Regions from separate parts of the Homo sapiens genome. Here region 2 is linked to region 1. Evidence: promoter capture Hi-C in human tissues and cell types (Jung and others, 2019). All regions are on one chromosome and are shown on one strand. The core of a region is centred on a gene start or on the middle of the fragment in contact, and the rest is flanking DNA. Distances in the headings are between cores, read along the strand shown.

Region 1 (5,552 bases), core at 1,096-3,595:
GACTTGGCTCCCTGACTCCAGGCCTGCCCGGAGAGCCAGGCTGGCGAGTGAGCAGCAGGCAGGCAGCAGCCTCACTTGTGCCAGGCAAGATGCTCCTGGGATAAGAGCTTTTTATAAACAGAAGTTTCCGGCCACTTTGGCCTGTAATGCTGGGGCTTTCAGTAGCAGTTGGAATTCTCCCCCTCCCTTCCCCTCCCCTCCCCAGCAAGCATAGCCCTCAGGTTGCAGCCCTAGGCAATCCTACGTGCAAAGCTGGGCTGCAGCAGGGCACCCTGAGATAGGCCCAGGCCATCAGGACTTGGCCTCCTCCCACCTTTCTCGATTCTCCCTTCCCCTGGCCCCCAGAAAGTTGCCTTTTGGAACTGGTTCATCTTTTGGCCAGTTCCCAAGGCCCCCCAGACCTCCCAGGCAGCCATCAATTCCAGGAGTCAGGGTTTCCTGTCACCTGAAAAGACCCCCTAACTCGGCCTCCAGCTCTGCCACAGTCCAAGGCAGTCCAGAGGCCCAGCCACACACCCCAGCTTCATAGAAGAAAAACCACCCCTTGTCCTCTCTCCCAGGCTGGGGAAAGAAGAGCAAGTTTCTTCGAAGGCATGCCCCACCCCACCACACACCCTTCACTGAGATCCTGGAATACAGGGATGGGACAGAAAGCCTGCCCCTCCTCCACAGACCTGGAACCTGAGACCCAAAGAGGGAAGAGTCACTCAAGGTCACATGGCAGTCAGTGGCAAAGGTAGGGCTAGAATCCAGCACCCCCCCCCACATCCATCCCAGCCTCCTCGTAGGCCCGCCCACAGCCTCCCCCTGGGCCCACCCCCACCTCTCAGGGAGGCCCTCAACCAGTGTCATTGTCTCCACCCCCTCAGGATCATCTTGTTCCTCCGCTTCACACAATACTGACCATCGGACTGACCCCTCCTTCCCCCAACCACCGTTACAAGCACGCGTTGTCCTGTGCTCACAGGGTCATGGACAAGGAATGTCATCCTCTCCCAACTCCCAGGGCCCTTGGCAGTCACACCCACTGTGGCTCATGCAGCCTTAGGGACAGGCACATGAATGCTGCCCACCCCCAGGACATTTGCCTAATCTGGGACCCTTCTAGAAGCCTCCCTACCAGGCAGGCATTAGGGGTGCTGTACTCCCGGTCCCCATAAGGGAATTAGGTGACAGTCTCCAGGGCAAGAAAACCCACAACTTGGGGGTACCACAGGGAGCTGCTTACCCTCAAAGCCCAGCTCTAGCCCCAGGACACCCTGTCTCCACAGAGCCCACAAGCTCGCAGCCTTGTCAAAGACACCTCCCCACCGCCCATACAGGGTCTAACTCACGGGTGACACATGGGCTCAGGGTTATATACACACGGCACACACAAGAAGAGATTATGAGCTGACCCTGCATCCACGGCTTTTCAGTCCCTCCGGCACAACACAGTCAAGATCTGGCAAGACCAGTGTGCGCGCTGGACTCTCGGGATCCCAGGGTTTGGGTCGTACACACTCTTATGCCCTTGCACACAGCCCCATCCACGTCCACGCACCCAGAGTTGGGGACACCTGCACACTCCATCCCACATCCCTTCCCTGCACACTCAGCGTGTCACACACACTCCGATCCCAAAAGCCTGAGCTGAGTTTCCCGCCCCAAGCCCCAACCCCAAACCCTTTGGCCCGGTGCCCACGGCCCCGGTGCACCAAGCCTTGCCCCCGCCGTCCCCTCGCCAAAGCCTGGGGCCCACCAGGCCCCATTGACTCGCACTTGCCGACGCACACGGCCCGGGCACGCCCCCCCATCCACACTCGGAAGAGCTCGGCCCGCCCCCAGAGCCCCCTCCCCGCTCAGCCCCCTCCCCCACTCACTCTGGCCCTCAAACTTGCGGATGATGGTGTCCAGGAAGGTGTTCTGCGGCGCGACGTGGCCCCTCCGCACCGGCATCCTGAGCCCATGGGCGGGCCGGGCGGGCCCCCACCCACCCCGGCCCGGCCCGGCCCAGCACTAGGCTTCGGGTGGCCCGGCCGGGCCGTGGTCCCCGCACCCCGCGGCCAAGCCGAGCACGGGCGCGGCCAAGACTGGACTGCGGGCGCCGGGTCCTCGCTCGGCTCCCGGCTCCCCGCTCCGGACCCCGGGCCCGGCCTGGAGCCGCCTGAGCGCGAGCCGCCCGCCGCCGGCACACCTGTCTGCCGGCCCCCGCCGAGCCGCGGGGCCCGCTCCGCCGCGTCCCCGCGCTGCGCTCCGCCCGCCCGAGCCCCGGACTCCTGGCTCCCGCCTGCCACCGCGCCGACAGCCGCTCCAGCGCCCGCGGCTCGGGCAGCGCCTGCGGCTCGGCCCGGCCGCGGAAGGGTTAATGCGGCGCGCGCCCCTCCGGCTCCGGCCCCCGCCTCCCGGCCCCCTCCCGCCTGCCGCGCGCCCGCAGCACCGCCCTCTCCCCCCCCCATCCCGCCCCACCGCGCGCGCCCGACCTTCCCATTGGCTGAGCCGCGCCGAGTGCTCCCCCAACGCCAGCCCCTCGCTCTGCCAAGGAGCCCCTGGGACTCGCGCGCCCAGAAGAGGGGGAAGGGACCCTTAGGCAGGGGAAACCGTGAGGACAGGTGCCATGGCCGGCTTGTAGGCGGCCGGGATGGGGGAAGGGATTCCACCCCCACCCCAGATTAGCGACTAAGAAACCTGATTTGAAGGGAAACGGCGGGTCCTTATGCCCTGGTTCCCCACCACGCCGAGCACTGGCTTGGTATACACAGCACGCGCTCAGTGCCTACTGTGGGTGACCGGGGCAACGCCTGGACCCTCGAAGACGAGCCCGGAGTCAAGGGAGACCCTGGAAATAGGAAAAGCAAGACAATCTGAAGGCCCCAGAGCAGCAGAGCTCTGAAATAAGGGAGGGTTAAACTTAGAAGGGGCACGCCCCCTGCCCCAACACACACACACACACACACACACACACACACACACACATACACACACACACACACACACACACACACACACACATACACACACACACACGGAGAGAGAGAGAGCCCTCTGTGGGGCTCTGCATAGGAGCTGCACAGAGAGGGACATTCTGACAGCAGTTGCGGCCTCCTAGCTGCAGGATCAAAGAGAGGTCCCTGAGCGCGAGGTTCCAACCAGGGGATCCCCGGGTGCGAGCGGCCCGCCCTCCCCCGGCAGCCCGGGGCCAGCCTTGCACGCCCAATCGGCGGGCTCGGGGCCCTGCGGCGGCGGCCACGGCCCAGCCCCTCGGAAAGCCCTGGCCTAGCCGCAGGCCCCTCCCCCCGGCCAGCTGGCTCGCTCCAGCTGCGGCTCCCTTATTTAGGCAAGGAGGCCTAGGGATGCTCAAGGGCAGGCGGGGTGTCTGCCCCGCCGCCTGCTCATCGCCTGCTTGCGTCTGAGTGAGGGTCTCCGGGCGCGGTGTCCTCGGACTTAGCAGTCAGGCAGGGCCCCGGGAAGGCCAGGGCGGGGAGGCGAGTGTTGACAGCTGAGTGGGCGGGCGGGGAGGGAGGAGTCGCAGCTGAACAGCCGAGGGTCCCCTCCCTGCAGCCGGATCAGAGACCTGTCTAGATGGATGGGGCCATGTGGGGGCTCCTGAGGGCTTGCAGCTGCCTCTGTCCTTGGAGCAGGGGCTGGGTCTTGTCACCAGCGAGAACCATCATGGGGGGAGGGGAAGAACAAAGGGCAGGGAAGGAATCGGAGTCCCGAAGGAGGAAGGCGCAGAAAACTGTCGTCGTGAGACCACCCTACCCGGACTCTCACCTTCCACCCAGGAGCACAAAGATGCAAACACTGGGGCCAAATGGGGCCACTGGCCAGCAGATGACACTCTTTTTTATTTGCTGGTGGGTGGGCAGTGACTCAGGGAGGCAGCCAGTGGGAGAGAAGGAGGTGGCTCCACAGCTGATGCTAAAAAAGTCCAGAGGCTCTTGCCTGTGCAGTTATTCCTCAGGCCCTCTCCACTGCCAGCAGTTTCCTCACTCACCCCCCCGGGGGCCCAGGGCCTTCCACAGCACAAGCTCCTCCTTGGTGTAGCATTTGGCATCAGGTGCATCAACACATCTGGGTTCCGGGTAGAACCTAGTCCACGACTGGCCCAGCCCCCGCCACGCCCCAAGGCCACCCCTGGCTGCTGGGTTGCCTACCATGAATCCAGGATGATTCATGTGTGAGTGAAGTGTCCTCCTGTCCAGGCCAGGGGATGGAGAGAAAGTGAGCAAAGGCCAGCAGCTGAGAATGGGCATGGGAGGGCAAGAAGGGAAAGGGACATCTGTAGCCTCCCCCTCTCTCCAGACCAAGGGAGAGGGAGAGCCAGGCCCTGAAGGGAAGGAGCCACTCATCTGAGCTGGCCAGCTGTCCTCCACTCCTGTACCCGTGTTGCTGGGACAGGCCTCTGCTCTTATCCCAAAGGGAAGACAGGAGTCAGAGGAGCCCTTCATCCTCCCAAACAGAGAGGAGCCCAGGCACGGGGTAGCCCTCCTTCTGTGCACAGAGGCAAGAAGAGAGCTGTTCCCTCAAGCTGAGGAGAGACAGATCTCTCCCTCTCTCCCCCCAGCCCACTCCACATACTCAGAAGTCAAAGCTGAATGTAGATTTCTGACTTCCTTGGAGGCTCAGGGTAGAGCCTGAAGGCAGACCCACTTAGCCGCCCCCACACTCAAGAATTGAGCTGAGGAAGAGAAACGGTGAGAGGGGGCAAGCTCTCCCCAAAGCAACATTTCTGGGCCTCAGATGAGCTGATGGAGAAGCCCCCACTGCCTTCAACTTCCCACCTCTGCTACCCCCAGATCTGGGACAAAGAGAAAAGTGCCCAACCCTAATACCAAGAGCTGGGCTGTTAAGCCTCTAGAATCTGCCCCACCCCCATCTCAGCTCCAAGAGCCATTTCAGAGACCATTCCTGGGAAGAGCTCTCCCGCACCCTGCCTGTGACTGAGGGAACAGAGAGGCTACAGTGAGATATCCAGGCTCCTCCCAGCTCCCAAAAAGAAACAATTTAGGGAGAAAAGTCTGCAGAAAGCATCCTACCCACCCTGCTCTCTGCTCCTGCTCAGTCCGAAGGCATGGAGCCAGGACATCCTGGAAGGAGAAAGAGAAATGGAAGCCCACTCTGCCAGAGGTCCCCCAAGGAGCGGGCCAGGCAAGACACCACCAAAGTCAGGCCCAGGAGAGCCTGGGGTTACCCACAGGGGATTGGGAAGCAGTTCCAGTCGGCTGGGCACAGGAGAGACAGGTTACAGAGCAATGGTTCCTGGGAAACCCTGGGGAAGGAAGAACAGAGTGAGCAGGTCCCTTGATGCTTGAACACGGTGGGTTTTTTTTGTTTTTCTGTGCAACTGGGTCCCCAGAATAGAGATTTTTTTCAGATGTGAACTGGAGTTGGAGAAGAAAAGAATCAAAGAAACAGCATGTTTCCCCTCCAGAAGTGGATGATCAGGGCTTATTGATAGAAAGAAGGGAAGTAGGAAGGAAAGAAAGAAGGAAGAAAGGATGGAAGGAACCCGCCTGAAACCCCTAGCCAAGAGCCAGGACACTCTTCACTCATCGCCCTCTGCAGCTCCA
Region 2 (5,552 bases), core at 895-3,394, 61 kb before region 1:
GCCACCATGGGATTTGCTAAAGGAATTGTTATGGGGTTCTCATTCAAAGGAAAATGCAAAATGTTGTCATGTTTGTGGAGTAAAGAACTAAGATACGTGAGTCAGCCCGTCAGTCTCCCTCATGTTTCCTGGCCTCCCATGCATTTCAATGGGGCCATGAAACTGGCTCCAAGCAAAGCTCCAAGCTGGTGTGTCTCTTCGGTCACCACCTGGTAGCCACTCTCCACATGGCAGCCACTACAGAGGCCGCCTGCTGAGAGGGCAGAGTCACAGGATGTGAGCCCCTCGACCTCTGTCATGGCAGGGAGGAGCACTGCCTGGGACCTTGCCCTAATGAGAAATAAACCACGGTTGAGGTTTATTTCTTAACCATGGTTAAGGTTTTGGAGTTGGCTTACTACAGCAGTGAGCATGGCTTAACCTAACTAAACACTTGCCAAGCTTTTCACATATCCTTTAAATTGCATGACCACATATGGGGAGATCCTGTCACTAACCACTTTACAGGTACAATAAATGAGGTCCTTTAAGCAATGACTCTGAGGTCACACAGCCAGCACATGTTGGAGCTCATATTTGAACCCAAGTCAATCCAACTCCAAGGCAAATGTTTTCCCCACTCTATACTAACTCCCTTTCTTCAAAGAGGATAGTCCCAAATTAATTCTGTTGACTGGGGATTCTTTTTCCTCCCCTAAACCCCATCTAGAGAACTCAACCCAAAAGAACTTCTTTATATGCTCAAAGCTCTCCTCTATACCTCGCTCCTGTCCACTCTGCAAGCCCCTCAGCCAAGAGACAGCTGGAGGAGCATCCTCCAGCTAGAGAAAACATGACCACACACCCAGGCCTAGGCCACGCACGCCCGGGCCCCTTGCTTCACCACACAGAAAGCTGGAGGCTGTTTCCCACAAATACAAGTTGACCTAGAGGACATGTAAGTCCCATTTTAATGTCCAAGTGCTAGAATTTCATGAAGTAGCTGAAAAGTTATGAGGGCTCAAGTGTAGCAACAACAGTGGGATGAACTGGGTCAATCAGGGAGGGAAGGACACCTGGATCTGAGAACGCTGATCAGGGAGGTGAAGGACAGGCTGGAGATGCAGGCAGTGCTGACCAGTGGGGAAATGCCAAGTCTGGGATCTCAGAAGCCTGATGCAGCTAAGGCCAAGACAGGATGGAGTTCAGGTATGTCTACAGCGAGGTGGAGATGGAGGGAGCCTGCAAGTTATGCTCACCATAATGTGTGTGCCCCAGGAATGGAGTGACGAGAAGTCAGGATCATCCAGGAGAGGGGGTAAGGCCAGAGGGCACCAGCCACACAGATTGTTGGGACTGTGTGTTGCAAGGGATGGCGTGCCTTTGAAGTGGAGTGGCAGAGGGTGGGGTGCGGGAGCGAGCGCAGGTCACAGTGCCTCCTGTCCTCCTAGAGTGGAGAGAAGTTGATTCTCTAAGAAGGGGAGAGAGCAGTTTGGATCCTATGGTGTGAGATGGCTTTCCCCTTACCTTCTTGGAAATTGCCCTGGACCATCGAGCAGAAAGGAAAACCAAAACACAGTGGCCATACCTGATGAAGCTAGGAGACAGATAGGTCTCTGAACAATATCCTCTCCAAATGGAGTGAAGACTGCGCATGCAGGATGAGAGGAGAGAGTCCTTGGCAGTGGTGGCTCAGGAGGATGAGGGTGCAGCCCAGAGAGAAAACCTGGGACTCCTCACTTCCAACAGTGGAGGCAGACCCCAGGGGGCCTCCCAAGACCGAATCGGATCCCAAGAAGCAGAGGCGGGTGAAGGTGCAGTCACACTGATGAGCGCTTTTTGTAGGAAGCAGTCTGTCCAGAGGACCCATGGAGATGCGCCACCCAAACCCTGCTTTGAGGAAGGACCTGTCCCACCTTCTGCAAGTGCCATCAGGGGCGACCTCGAGCTGTCAGCCTCGCCAGGGCTTCTTCAGCTGAGGACCACTGCTCATCCAGGTCACATCAGCTTGTGTGCAACCCATATCCAAAGACTAATGGAAGCAGAAGTATCAAAGTTCACCACATCTGCCCAACCCCAGACAACTCTCTTGTTCCTTTCGGCCCCGGACCTCCTCATGGGTGAGCAGAGGCTGTCAGGCTGCATCCCAGCCCAACAACTGCCTCTGCCCATTCCTGCTTCCCCTCCTCCCTTCCTCAGGCATTGACCCAAGGGCACATATAATAAGCATCCTAATCCAGACTGTGACCCCTGAGGCAGCAGAAGAGTGCCCCCGCCAAGATGTCCTCATTATAATCTCCAAAACCTGTGAACACGCTACTTTACTTGCCAAAAGGGACTTCGCAGGTATGATTAAATGAAGGATCTTGAGATGCTGAGATTAGCCTGGATTTTCCAGGTGGGCCCAATGTAATCACAAGGGTTCTTATGAGAGGCAGGAATGTCCAAGAGAGAGATCTGGAGATGCTGTGTTTATGCATTTGAAGATGGAGGACCAGGCCATAAGCTAAGGGATGTCGTTGACCTCCAGGCACTGAAAAAGACAAGGAAGTGGATTCTCCCCTAGAACCACCAGAAGGAACATAGCCCTGCAAACATCTTGACACCACTTTATATCTTACAGTTCTGGAGATCCAAAAGGGGTCATAAATCATTTTGCCCACTATGACCCCTTTTGGATCTACAGAACTGTAAGATATAAAGTTGTGTTATTTTAAGCCAAATGTGCATTGTTCTAAGTTTGCAGTGTTTGTTACTACAAATATGAAAGTAATACACACCCTAACGCAACAGCAGAAGAAAGACTTTGCATTGCAGACAGCTCTACACCTTCCTATCCCTGCTGAGCGGAGAAAAGAAAAAGTTTAAACAAATTCTGTTTTTTAAAATATATGTATAATTCACAGGTTCATTTGTGTCAGCCTAGAATGGCCCCGGCCCCTACCTCTTACGAACCTCCTGCAAATATCTGGTCCAAGAAAAACTTGTCTGCATCAAAGAAGGATAATATTTAGATCTATACACAATCTATACAAAAATATTATAGACTAAAAATGAGAGAAAAATGGCAGATAAAAAACACTTGTCAAAAATGTGTTGCAATGAACAGATGAAAAGCATATCCAAATATTTTGCCATGAATTTTTTAAACTTAAGTAACAGCTCAAGAAAGAGATGGTGAGAAAACAGAAGGATATGAAAAGAAAGCTGGCAAAACCCAGGAAAGAGTAGAATCAAAATTTAAATCATCACAAAAATGAAGACAAAACTGGAAGCAGCACGAGAAAGTACTTCGGAACCCAGAAGGGGGAAACGGATTAGACGGGCGAGCGAAATGAAAGGCAAACAAAGAGAGAAAGTGACAGCTATGAAGGAAGGCAGAGGAGCTGCAACTCCCACAAAATTGGAATGCACGAAGAAGAAACACAGCCACAAAACAAATATTTTAAACAATAATTCATGCACAGTTCCCTAATGAGACAAGGCACTTTTTCATGTTTCTTGGCCATTTGGCTGTCCTATTTTGCAATGTGCTTGTTCTGTTCTTTTACTCATTTATTTTTCTATTGATTCCAGTGCCTTTTTCATGTTGATTTGTAAGGACTCTGTACATTCTGAATAGGAGTCTTTTGTAGGTTATGTGCACTGCACATACCTTCTTCCCCTCTGTGATTCAGCTTTTTTTCCTCTCAGAGATGTTTTGTTTTGTTTTGTTTTTTGTTTTAGGCAGAGTCTCACTTTGTCACCCAGGCTAGAGTGCAGTGGCGTGATCTCGGCTCACTGCGACCTCCACCTCCCGGGTTCAAGCAATTCTCTTGTCTCAGCCTCCGGAGTAGCTGGGATTACAGGCATGCGCCACCTCACCCGGCTAATTTTTGTATTTTTAGTAGAGACGGGGTTTCCCCATGTTGGTCAGGCTAGTCTCAAACTCCTGATCTGAAGTGATCTGCCCGCCTCAGCCTCCCAAAGTGCTGGGATTACAGGCGGGAGCCACCCCACCTGGCCATACAGATGTGTTTTTAATAAACTTCTATTTTCGAATAATTTTAGGTTTACAGAAAAGTTGCAAAGATAATGCAGAGTTCCACATAGGCTTCACCCAGCTTCCCCTAACGTTAACATCTTAAGTTACCACAGTACATTTGTCAACACTGAGGAACTGACAGTGGTGCAATACTATTAATTAAACGAAACACTCTTCACCACTCTTTCCATTCATGTCCTTTTGCTGTTTCGGAATCCAATCCCGGTCACTGCGTTTCACTTCATTGTCATGTCTCCTTAGGTTTCCTCCTCCCGCGTGTGACCATTTCTTAGTCCTTTTTTAGGATCTTGACACCTTTGAAGATTAAGTATTTTGTAGAATGTCCCTCATTTTGGGCTTGTCTGATGTCTTTGGACGATTAGACTGGGCATATGTGTTAGAGGCGAACCACAGACGAGAGGCGCCCTTCTCCTCACTTCATATCTAGGGCACGTGATCTCAGCATGGCTCATCATGGGGAATATTAGCTTTGAGCATTTGGTTAAGGCTTTCCCACTGTAATGTGACTCTTCTGCCTTTTCCATATTCCGTTCTTTGGAAGCAAGTCCCTAAGTCTAGCTCATGCTGAAACTCATATTTCTGGAGGGAGGAGCGTCTACCTACTTTAGAATTCTTCTGTATGGAAGACTTATCCCGTCTTCCCATTTTATTTACATACTCAATCATGTATTTATATCAGTTTGTACTCACAGATATTTATTTTATTCTTTAGTTTATAATTCACTACTATTGTTATTTACTTTGCTGCTCAAATTGTTCCAGCTTTGGCCACTGGAAGCTCGTTCAGGCTGGCTCCTCTATCCTTGTGATATGTCCTTGTCATTGTGGGAATTTGTATGGGTACTCCCTAAAGATGTCTCTTGATAAACAGAAATTCTTCATTTTAGTGTAGTCATATGAACTAATGTTTTCCTTTAGATTTAGTGCTTCTAGTTTCCTGCTATTACTTTCTAAAGGTATTTTTTGTTTTGTCTTTCACAGACAGATTGTGATCAGGAAGCATCACACAGGAGCTTCTAGGGGGCCGGTGAGTTCGATTTCCCAACCTAGATGGTGGTTGTCTGAGTGAATCAAGTATGAAAATATAGGCACACTCACCAGCAAGAAATAGGACATGAGCAGCTAGAAGCGCAGGTGCAGGCTAAAGGAAGAAGAGGAAAGGCACTTGTGGCATAAATGGCAGGGGTATGAAACACAGAATCACAGTGGGCTCTGCTATGCTCCAGCGGCCCAGCTCTCCTTCCTTTTGGAAATTGCCCCTCACACAGCTTTGCATGGTTCAACTACACCACAGAGGAAGAATCACGTGGCACATGCCTGGTCATCCTAGATTAATTCAAGAAGGATGGGCACATGACCCAAGCAGGGCCAATTTTCCATTTGATGCTGCTGATTTAATTTTATTTCTTTTTCTTTAGAGACAGGGCCTCACTCTGTTGCCCAGTCTAGAGTACGGTGGCACTATCATAGCTCACTGCAGCCTCAAAAACTCCTGGGCTCAAGTGATCCTCCTACCTCAGCCTCCTGA

Evidence for each region. Contacts are between HindIII fragments. The study calls those that stand out against the background at their distance.
Region 2: a fragment that was not itself captured here is called in contact with the fragment with the promoter of KCNH2 in region 1 in 1 of the 25 tissues and cell types used here (ovary).

Annotation. Positions count from the first base shown.
Region 1 is chr7:150,975,976-150,981,527 of GRCh38, forward strand. It overlaps KCNH2 (potassium voltage-gated channel subfamily H member 2), which reads right to left and starts at 2,346. Exons shown (of 15, transcript NM_000238.4): 1 at 1,863-2,346. The coding sequence starts at 1,938. LOC124901776 (a long non-coding RNA gene) reads left to right here. Exons shown (of 3, transcript XR_007060592.1): 2 at 561-736; 3 at 870-1,380. RefSeq lists an enhancer at 1-644 and a silencer at 3,014-3,363. The HindIII fragment of the contact is 28,056 bases long and covers 1-5,552 here.
Region 2 is chr7:150,914,944-150,920,495 of GRCh38, forward strand. No RefSeq gene overlaps it. Among named protein-coding and RNA genes, the nearest start is that of KCNH2, 61 kb to the right of the region's middle. The HindIII fragment of the contact is 7,230 bases long and covers 1-5,552 here.